Regions from separate parts of the Homo sapiens genome. Here regions 1 and 2 are each linked to region 3. The links are contacts of gene promoters, found by promoter capture Hi-C in blood cells and fetal thymus (Javierre and others, 2016). All regions are on one chromosome and are shown on one strand. Each heading gives the region's core, a stretch centred on a gene start or on the middle of the fragment in contact. The rest is flanking DNA. Distances are from core to core; before and after follow the strand shown.

Region 1 (3,846 bases), core at 400-2,899, 61 kb after region 3:
CATCTTGAATTCATTTTTGTATAAGGTGTAAGGAAGGGATCCAGTTTCAGCTTTCTACATATGGCCAGCCAGTTTTCCCAGCACCATTTATGAAATAGGGAATCCTTTCCCCATTGCTTGTTTTTGTCAGGTTTGTCAAAGATCAGATGGTTGTAGATATGTGGCATTATTTCTGAGGGCTCTGTTCTGTTCCATTGATCTATATCTCTGTTTTGGTGTTGAGCATTTTTTCATATGCTTGCTGGCCATGTGTATGTCTTCTTGGATAAATGTCTGTTAATGTCCATTGCCCATTTTTTAATGGGGTTGTTTGCTTTGTTCTTAATTTCTTTAACTTCCTTATAGATTCTGGATATTAGACTTTTTTCAGATGCATAGTTTGCAGATATTTTCTCCCATTCTGTAGGTTGTCTGTTTACTCTGTTTATAGTTTCCTTTGTTGTGCATGAACTCTTTAGTTGAATTAGGTCCCTCTTGTTAACTTTTTGTTCGGTTGCAGTGGCTTTTGAAGTTTTCATCAGGAAATCTTTGCCAGTGCCTATGTCCAGAATGGTATTTCCTAGGTTTTCTTTTGGTGGTTTTATAGTTTTAAATTTTACATTTACATCTTTAACTCATCTTGAGTTGATTTTTGTATATAGTGAGAAGAAGGGGTCCAGTTTCAATCTTCTGCATATAGCTAGCCAGTTAACCCAGCACCATTTATTGAATAATGCATTCTTTCTCCATTGCTTTTTTTGTTAGCTTTACCAAAGATCAGATAGTTGTAGGTGTGTGGTATTATTTCTGCTTTCTTTAAACTTTTCCATTTGTTCATGTGTCTGTTTTGTTTTGTTTTGTTTTTTGACCAGCACCATGCTATTTTGGTTATTGTAGTCTTGTAATATAGTTTAAACTCAAGTCATGTGATGTCTCTGGCTTTGTTCTTTTTGCTTAGGAGTGCCTTGGCTACTCGGGGTTTTTTTGTTGTTGTTGTTCCATGTGGATGTTAGAATAGTTTTTACTAATTCTATTTTTAAAAAGTCATCGATAATTTGATAGGAATAGCATTGAATATGTAAATCAATTTGGGCAGTATGGCTATTTTAACAACATTGATTCTTCCTATCCATATGCATGAAATAATTTTCCATTTGTTTGTGCAGTCTCAGATTTCTTTCAGCAGTGTTTTATAATTCTCATTGTAGAGATGCTTCACCTCCCTGATTGGCTGTAAACCTAGGTATTTTATTCTTGGTTATTCACAATAGCTATTGTGAATAGGATTGTGTTCTCGGTTTGACTTTCAGCTTGGACATTATTGGTGTGTAGAAATGCTACTTATTTTTGTACATTTACTTTTTTATCCTGAAACTTTGCTGATGTTTATCAGATGGATGAGACTTTGGGCAGAAATTATGGAGTTTTCTAACTACAGAATTCTATTGTCTATGAAGAGAGAGAGTTTGACTTCCTCTCTTCCTATTGGATAACTTTTTTTTTCCCCTTTGCCTGATTTCTCTGGCTAGGACTTCCAGTACTATGTTGAATAAGAGTTGTTGAGAGTGGGCATCCTTGTCTGTTTTTGGTTCTCAAGTGAAATGTTTCCAGCTTTTTCACATTCAGTATGATGTTGGCTGTGGGTTTTTCATAGATGGCTTTTATTATTTTGAGGTATGTTCCTTTGAGGCCCAGTTTGTTGAGATATTTTAACATGAAATATTGAATTTTATCAAAAGCCTTTTCTGTGCCCATTGAGAAGATCATCTGGTTTTTGTTCTGAGTCCCGTTTGTGTGAGGAATCAATTTATTATTAGCATATGCTGAATCAACCTTGCATTCCAGGAATAAAGCCTAATTGACAGTGGTGGGTTCGCTTTTTAATGTGCTGCTGGATTTGGTTTGCTAGTATTTTGTTGAAGATTTTTTCATCCATGTTCATCAGGAATATTGTCCTGCATTTTTCTTTTTTTGTTGTGTCTCTGCCAGGTTTTTAAAATCAGAATGATGCTGGCCTCATAGAATGTATTAGGAAAGATTCCCTGCTCCCCATTTTTTTTGGAATAGTTTAGTAGAATTGGTACCAGCTCTTCTTTCTATGTATGGCAGAACTGACTATGACTCTGTCTGGTCTAGGGCTTTTTCTGCTTGGTAGGCTTTTTAATGCTGACCCAATTTTGGAACTTGTTATTAGTCTGTTCCAGGTTTCAATTTCTTCCTGGTTCACTTTTGGTAGGTTGTATGTTTCCAGGAATTTATCCATTTCTTCTAGGTTTCTTAGTTAGTGTGCATAGTGGTGTTCATAATAGTCTCTCAGGATTTTTTGTATTTCTGTGGAGTTGATAGCAATGTCCCTTTTGCCATTTTTTTATTGTGTTTATTTGGATCTTCTCTTTTTTTGTTCTTTTTTAGTCTAACTAGAAGTATATCCATCTTATGTATTTTTCCAGAGAACCATTGGTTTCATTGATCTTTTGTATGGTTTTTCTTGTCTCCACTTTATTCACTTCAAGTCTGATTTTGGTTATTTCTTGTCTCAGCTAGCTTTGTGCTTGGTTCACTTTTGTTTTTCTAGTTCCTCAAGGTGTAATGTTAGATTGTTAATTTGAGATATTTCTAACTTTCTACTGTAGTCGTTTAGTGCTATTAACATTCCTCTTAACACTGCTCTAGTTGTGTCTCAAAGATTCTGGTAGGTTGTATCTTTGTTTTCATTAATTTCAAATAATTTATTTCTGCCTTAAATTCACTGTTTACCCCAAAATCATTCAGAAGCAGATTAATTAATTTTCATGTAATTGTATAGCTTTGAGAGATATTCTTTGTATTGATTTCTATTTTTACAGCATTGTGGTCTGACAGCATTGGTATGATTTGGGTTTTTTTTTTATTTGTTGAGAATTGCTTTATGGCAGAGCAAGGAGTCAATTTTAGAGTATGTGCCATGTGCAGATGAGATGAATGTATATTCTGTTATTGTTGGGTGGAGTGTTCTGTAGATGTCTGTTAGGTCCATCTGGTCAAATGTCAAGTTAGGTCCTGAATATCTTCGTTAGTTTTTTGCCTCAATGATCTGTCTAATATTGTCAGTGGAGTGTTGAAGACTCCAACTATTATTGTGTGGTTATCTAAGTCTCTTCATAGGTCTCTTTGAACTTGTTTTATGAATCTAGGGTCCTCTAGTATTGGGTGCATACATATTTAGTATAATTAAGTCTTCTCGTTGAATTGAAACTTTTATCATTATGTAATGCCCATCTTTATCCTTTTTGATCATTATTGGTTTGGAGTCTGTTTTGTCTGAAATAAGAATAGCAACCCCTGCTCTTTTTGTTTTCCATTTGCTTGATAGATTTTTCTTCATCCCTTTACTTTGAGCCTATTGGTGTAATTGCATATGAGATTGGTCTCTTGAACATCGAAGACAGTTGGGTCTTATTTCTTTATGCAACTTGCCACTCTGTGCCTTTTAATTGGGGTTGTTAGCCCTTTTACAGTCAAAGTTAATATTGATATGTGTGGATTTGATCCACACTTGATTGTGTTATTGCTCTGTAGTGTCAATGATCCATGTACTGAAGTGTGCTTTTGTAGTGGCTGATAATGGTCTTTCATTTTCATGTTTAATGCTCTTTTCAGCAGCTTGAGTAAGGCAGGTCTGGTGGTAACAAATTCCCTTAGCATTTGCTTGTCTAAAAAGGATTTTTTTTTTCTTATGAACCTTAGTTTGGCTGGATATGAAATTCTTCCTTGGAATTTCTTTTCTTTACAAATGCTGAATATAGGTCCCCAGTCTCTTCTGGCTTGTAGGGTTTCTTCTGAAAGTTCCACTGTTAGCTTGATGGGATTCCCTTTGTAGAAGACCTG
Region 2 (3,527 bases), core at 764-3,263, 54 kb before region 3:
ATGATCCCATTTACCCATTTTTGCTTTTGTTCCCTGTGCTTGAGGGGTATTACCCAAACAATTTTTGCCCAGACCAATGTCCTGGAGAGTTTCCCCAATGTTTCTTGTAGTAGTTTTATAGTTTGAAGTCTTAGATGTAAGTATTTAATCCACTTCGATTTGATTTTTGTATATGTCAAGAGATAGGGGCCTAGTTTCATTCTTTTGCATATGGATATCCAGTTTTCCCAGCATAAATTATTGAAGAGATTGTCTTTTCTTTGGTGTATGTCCTTGACATCTTTGTTGAATATGAGTTTACTAAAGGTGTGTGGATTTCTTTCTGGGTTCTCTATTCTGTTCCACTGGTCTATGTGTCTATTTTTGTTTTTGTTTTGTTTTGTTTTGTTTTTCAGACGAGTCTCTCTCTGTCGCCCAGGCTGGAGTGCAGTGGCGCGAACTCAGCTCACTGCAAGCTCCGCCTCCCGGGTTCACGCCATTCTTCTGCCTCAGCCTCCCCAGTAGCTGGGACTACAGGCGCCCGCCAACATGCCAGGCTAATTTTTATTTTTTATTTTTTTAGTAGAGACGGTTTTTCACCGTGTTAGCCAGGATGGTCTCTATCTCCTGACCTCATGATCCGCCCGCCTTGGCCTCCCAAAGTGCTGGGATTACAGGCGTCGGCCACCGCGCCCGGCCTATGTGTCTGTTTTTATGCCACTACCATGCTGTTTTGGTTGCTATTGATCTGTAATTTGAAGTTAGGTAATGTGATTCCTCCAGTTTTGTTCTTTTTGCTCAGGATAGCTGTGGCTATTCTGGGTCTTTCGTGGTTTCAAATAAATTTTGGGATAGCTTTATTTTTTTCTATTTCTGTGAAGAATGTCATTAGTATTTTGATGGAGATTGCATTGAATCTGTAGATTGCTCTGGGCAGTATGAACATTTTAACAATATTGATTCTTCCAATCCATGAAGATGGAATATCTTTCCATATTTTTCTGTCCTCTTCAATTTCCTTCATCAGTGTCTTATAATTTTCATTATAGAGATCTTTCACTTTTTTAGTTAATTCTTGAGTATTTAATTTTATTTGTGGCTGTTGGAAATGGGATTACTTTTATTTTTCACATTGTTCACTGTAGGCATACAGAAATGTTACTGATGTTTGTATGTTGATTTTATATCCTACAACTTTACTAAGTTGGCTTATCAGTTTTCATTGTTTTTTTGGTGGTGTCTTTAGGTTTTTTGAAATATAAGATCATATAATCTGCAAATAATGATAAATTGACTTCTTGCTTTCCAATTTGGATGCCCTTTATATCTTTCTCTTGTCTGATTGCTCTAGTTAGGGCATCCAATACTATGTTGAGTTACAGTGGTGAAAGTGGTCATCCTTGTCATGTTCCAGTTCTTAAAGGCTTTCAGGTTTTTTTCCAATTCAGTGTCATAAAAACTGTGGGTTTGTTGTATATGGCTTTTATTATCTTGAGATATGTTTCTTCCTTACCCAGTTTTTTTAGGGTTTTTATCATGGAGGGATGTTGAATTTTATCAAATGCTTTTACAGCATTAGCTGAAATGACCATATGGCTTTTGTCCTCCATTCTGTTGATATGAAGTATCACATTGACTAATTTTCGTAGGTTGAACCATACTTGAATCCCAGAGATAAATCCCACTTGGTCATGGTGAATGGTCTTTTTAATGTACCGTTGAATTTGGTTTGCTAGTATTTTCTTGAGAGTTTTTACATCAATACTCATCAGAGGTATGAGCCTGTAGCTTTCTTCTTTTTTATGTGTCATTGTCTGATTTTGATCAAGGTAATACAGGCCTCATTAACTGAGGTTGAAAGTATTCCTCCCTACTCTATTTTTAAGGATAGTTTGAATATAATTGGTATAACCTCTTCTTTAAATTAAACAGTGAAGTCGTTGCGTCCCAGGCTTTTCTTTACTGGGAGACTTTTTCTTATGGCTTCACTATCATTACTTGTTATTGGTCTGTTCAGGTTTTGGATTTCTTCGTTGTCCAATCTTGGTAGGTTGTATGTGTCTAGGAATTTTTCCATTTCTTCCAGATTTTTCAATGTATTGGCATATAGTTTTTCATAGTAGCCACTAATGATCCTTTGAATTTCTGCAGTACCCATTATGTCTCCTTTTTCATCTCTGATTTTGTTTATTTGAATACTTTCTTTTTTCTTAGTCTGACTGAAGGTTTGTTAATTTTGTTTAATTTTTTAAAAAACAACTTTTGTTTCATTGATCTTTTGTATTGTTACTTTCATTTCAATTTCATTTATTTCTACTCTGCTCTTTATTATTTATTTTCTTCTAATTTTAGGTTTGGTTTGCTCTTTTCTACTTCTTTAAGATTAGTCATTAGGTTGTTTCTTTGAAGTTTTTCTTTTTTTTAATGTAGGCACTTATAGCCATAAATTTCCCTGCTAGTACTGCTTTTGCTGTATCTCATAGGTTTTGCTATGTTGTATTTTCATTATCATTTGTCTCAAAAAGTTTTTCAATTTCCTTCGTAATTTTTTCATTGACACATTAGTCATTCAGGACCACATTGTTTAATTTTCATGTATTCTTATAGTTTCCAAAAACTGTCTTGTTAATTTCTAGTTTTATTCCATTGTGGTTAGGGAAGATGCTTGATATTATTTTAATTTTTTAGATGTGTTAAGACTTGTTTTGTTACCTAACATATGGTCTATTCTTGAGAATAATCCATGAGCTGAGGAAAAGGATATGTATTCTGCAGCCATTGGATGCAATATTTTGTAAATATCTATTCGATCCATTTGGTCTATAGTGCAGATTAAGCCCAATGATTCTTTGTTGCTTTTCTGTCTGGAAGATCTGTTCAATGCTGAAAGTGGGGTATTGAAGTCTCCAGCCATTATTGTATTGCAGTCTCTCTCTCTAGCTCTAATAATATTTGCTTTATATATCTGGATGCTCCAGCGTTTGGTGCATATATACTTAAAATTGTTATATTCTCTTGTTAAATTGACCCCTTTATCATGATATACTCACTGGCTTTGTTTTTCCTTATAGTTTTTGTCTTGAAATCTATTTTGGCCTGATATGAGTATAGCTACTCCTGCTTGTTTTGTTGTTTCCATTGGCATGGAATACCTTTGTCCATCTCTTTGTTTTCAGATTATGAGTGTCTTTATAGGTGAAGTGTGTTTCTTATAGCAGCACATCAATGGGTCTTGTGCATTTAGCCACATCTTTTGATTGGCAGGTTTAGTCCATTTTCATTCAATGTTATTATTGATAAGTAGTACTCCTGCCATTTCATTGTTTTCTGGTTGTTTTGTGGTCTTCTCTTACTTCTTTCCTTCCTTCCTGTCTTTCTATAGTGACAGTGATTTTCTTTGGTTATATGATTTAGTTTTTTGCTGTTTCTTTTTTGTGTTATCTGTTGTATGTTTTTTGGTTTGAGGTTACCATAAGTCTTGCAAATATTGTCTTATAATCTCCTATTTTAAGCTCATAACAAAACTTTTGCATAAACAAACTACAAAC
Region 3 (3,394 bases), core at 135-2,634:
ACATATTGCTATGTGCAATCATTATACATACAACTGTGAATTAACAATTTTTTTTGAGACAGTATCTCACTCTGTTGCCCAGGTTGGAGTGCAGTGGGACCACCATGGCTCATTGCAGCCTTGACCTCCTGGGCTCAGGTCATCCTCCCACCTCAGACTCCCAGGTAACTAGGACTATTATAACAGGCACATGCCATTATGCCCAGCTAATTTATTATTATTATTATTTGTAGAGATGGGGTTTCCCCATATTGCCCAGGCTGGTTTCCAATTCCTGGACTCAAGTGATCTGCCCACCTTGGCCTCCCAAAATGGTTGGATTGCAGGAGTGAGCCACCACACCCAGCCTAAATTTCTTCTTGATTAACATTTCCATGATTATCTGAAGTCAGTAACATTGGATTATCTGGAAAGGGGTGCCACTGGTGAAATTCAGGTGTTTCAAACACATTTACCTGGATTCAGTCATCCCTGTACTTTTTCTTCTTCTTCTTTTTTTTTTTTTTTAAGAGAGAGGGACTTCCTGACATTAAAAAATGGTAAGAGAAAAAAGCACCTGATTTCTTATTACTGGTCCTATTTAAAACTTGACTTAGCTTTATTTTCACTTTCAATATTGCTTATAGGAAATAAATGTTAAGTTTTGAATCAAAATCGGCACCAGTAATTTTACCTGATTAAGTGCCTAAAATTTTGTACTTATTAATTTGCAAATGTTTAATCAGACATTACTAAACAAATAGGAAGATCTAAGGGATAGGCACAAATGGGGAATCATTACCCATTTATTTCAGATAGATTTCCCAAACTCTGTTAACAAACTGGCTAGTCATTTTAGGAACTGAGTCCATTTTTCTGGTAGCCTGGGTAAGACTCCTAATTATAAATTATGCTTTTTATGGTCCAATCATCCTCCTGTCCTCCAAAAGATCCAGTTTCAATGAGATGTTTGTGTTTTGAAAGAGAAGTATTTACTTGCCACCACCGCACCTCTGGGCAACAACGTTAGAGGATACATAGATATCCATAGACACACACACAAACACACACATATTTTATGGTTAATGAAAAAATAAAGAAAAGAGATGAGAAACAGAAACATATAAGCATGTAAAAAAAAATAAAAGCAAACAAAAACTCAAATTTCTTCCCTGACAAAATTACCCCTGAGAGACAGGTAGATGAAACAACATTCATGTCTGCTGCTCTATATTCATTTTGGAGGCGAAAGATACCTAAGCTAAGGGTGGAAGAGGGACAAACAAACCTGAGTTTCAGGAGTCTGGTGTGGAGGAACCAGCACTTTCAAGCTCCTTTAGTTTCCTGTCTTGATAAACAGGAAAATCCCCAACAGTCAACTCCCCACAAAGTGCATGTCCTTTCAATTTCGGTTCTCACAGACTCTTACTTGGATGTCTGTAAATCCGGCTGGACTTTCAGCTTCTAAGAACAGTCCGTTTCTCGAGGATCCAGGCGCAGGAGGACAGAGCAATGGGTGAGAGAACTCTTCACGCTGCAGTGCCCACACCAGGTAAGTTTGCTCTTAAGCTTTACCTTTCAAGTATATTTGGGTTATAACAAACAACAACAAATTCCCAAGCGCAGACTGCACACGGGGAGGGTTGGAGACTTCACACTGGCGGGTGACAAAGGCAGTGGAGGAACCTCGCGGGGAAGTCTGATGCTGCTTGAACCCCTGAGTGCTTTGCTCCGTGTGGCCCAGCGTCTCTAGACGGTCCACAGGCGGCGACCAGAGGCGCACCGGTGTCTCCAGGATGCGCTGCTCCTCCTCGGGCTTCCTCCCAGAGCTGTGGCATTTTCTCCTGCGAAATACCATCATCTAGTATACATATACACATTTTTTGCTTGTTTGTTTTATTAATTTTCTGTCCCCCACTAGAATATGTGATACCCTACCTTGTTTTAACCTGAGTTGACTCTCCCTTAGCTGAAAGAGCCAGACAGTCTGCATCTCGGCTCCTTCACTTGCAGCCCCTTACCCACCCGCTTCCTCAGGGACTTAACTTGTGCAAGCTGACTCCCAGCACATCCAAGAATGCAATTAACTGATAAGGTACTGTGGCAAGCCATACCCGCAGTTCCCAGGAATTCGCCCGGTTAACAGCACCCAGAGCCCCCCGCGTTTGTGTCTGGTTGATAAAGCCCAAAGCCCCGCTTCTATCACCTTGTGATAGAATTAAAGCCCCTGCACCTAGTACTGTTTACTTTCCTGTAACCATTTATCCTTTTAACTTTTTGCCTACTTTACTTCTGTAGGATTGTTTTAACTAGACCCCTCCCCCCAACCTCTCCTTTCTAAACCAAAGTATAGAAGAAAATCTAGCCCCTTCTTCGGGCCGAGAGAATTTTGAGCACTAGCCGTCTCTCGGTCGCCGGCTAATAAAGGACTCCTGAATTCGTCTCAGAGTGTGGCGTTTCTCTGTAACTCGCTGGGTTACAACAAATAGAGCTCCAAGAGGCAGAAGTTTGTATCAATTATGTTCCTTGCTTGTTGCTGAGAATCTAGAACGGTGTTAATTAGCACATGGTAGGTACGCAATACTCTTTATTAAATTAATGAGAGAGCAAATTCTTCTGGAATGCCTGGAGCCTTTTCTAACCACTCCTCATCTCCTTTTTGTAACATCCTGCCCCTATTTATTCCAGGAGTGGAATTATTCTGCCATCAGTGCCTTGATTTTCTAATTCTGTTTATTTTATGCATCACCTTGACAAGGCATTTTTAGCGTTCTTGTAAGAATCATAAATAATGTACATAACAGATCTGTACTAGTCTTTGACATGCTAAACTAAATATTTTTCCATTTGAAATGTACAAATTTTATATACATAGAAATTTTATATACCATTAAACGTAGAAATATATTTATATACCATTAAAATGTAGAAATTTTATATACCATTCCACAAGCAAAAAGCTAATATGTATGTGCCTTAGGTAGCCCTTAGGGATGACTTCAAGATCTTGTATTCTACTGAGTATTTTTTTCTGGGTTACAGGTTATCCAGAATCTGAATCCATCATGATGGCCCCCATTTGTCTAGTGGAAAACCAGGAAGAGCAGCTGACAGTGAATTCAAAGGCATTAGAGATTCTTGACAAGATTTCTCAGCCCGTGGTGGTGGTGGCCATTGTAGGGCTATACCGCACAGGAAAATCCTATCTCATGAATCGTCTTGCAGGAAAGCGCAATGGTGAGTGTGGTCCTAGGACAGGAGCCATTTACTTGGAACCAGTGATAACACAGCTGATCACACCCCCTCTAGGGTCATCCTAAAGAAGGGCATGACTTCTCCCAATGAAGAAAACTTCTAATTCTCACCACTAAATTTACAATCTCAAATATATATCACTCTTTAGTCCAATAGTAAA

Evidence for each region. The method cuts DNA at HindIII sites, captures the fragments that hold promoters and counts their contacts. A CHiCAGO score of 5 or more calls a contact.
Region 1: a fragment that was not itself captured here is called in contact with the fragment with the promoter of GBP4 in region 3 in 4 of 17 cell types (activated CD4 T cells, naive CD4 T cells, non-activated CD4 T cells and 1 more); the score reaches 9.2 in activated CD4 T cells.
Region 2: a fragment that was not itself captured here is called in contact with the fragment with the promoter of GBP4 in region 3 in 7 of 17 cell types (activated CD4 T cells, non-activated CD4 T cells, total CD8 T cells and 4 more); the score reaches 12.7 in activated CD4 T cells.

What each region holds. Positions count from the first base shown.
Region 1 is chr1:89,135,456-89,139,301 of GRCh38, reverse strand. The region is part of intron 9 of GBP7 (guanylate binding protein 7); the gene reads left to right. All of the region lies in intron 1 of LOC105378842 (a long non-coding RNA gene), which reads right to left. Among named protein-coding and RNA genes, the nearest start is that of GBP2, 11 kb to the right of the region's middle. The HindIII fragment of the contact is 8,826 bases long and covers 1-3,846 here.
Region 2 is chr1:89,250,969-89,254,495 of GRCh38, reverse strand. It overlaps the pseudogene LOC100421401. Among named protein-coding and RNA genes, the nearest start is that of GBP5, 20 kb to the left of the region's middle. The HindIII fragment of the contact is 4,280 bases long and covers 1-3,527 here.
Region 3 is chr1:89,196,932-89,200,325 of GRCh38, reverse strand. GBP4 (guanylate binding protein 4) reads left to right here and starts at 1,384. Exons shown (of 11, transcript NM_052941.5): 1 at 1,384-1,531; 2 at 3,022-3,216. The coding sequence starts at 1,492. It overlaps LOC107985076 (a long non-coding RNA gene), which reads right to left and starts at 1,979. Exons shown (of 3, transcript XR_002958332.2): 1 at 1,918-1,979; 2 at 1,268-1,823. RefSeq lists a silencer at 1,286-1,580. The HindIII fragment of the contact is 3,654 bases long and covers 1-1,550 here.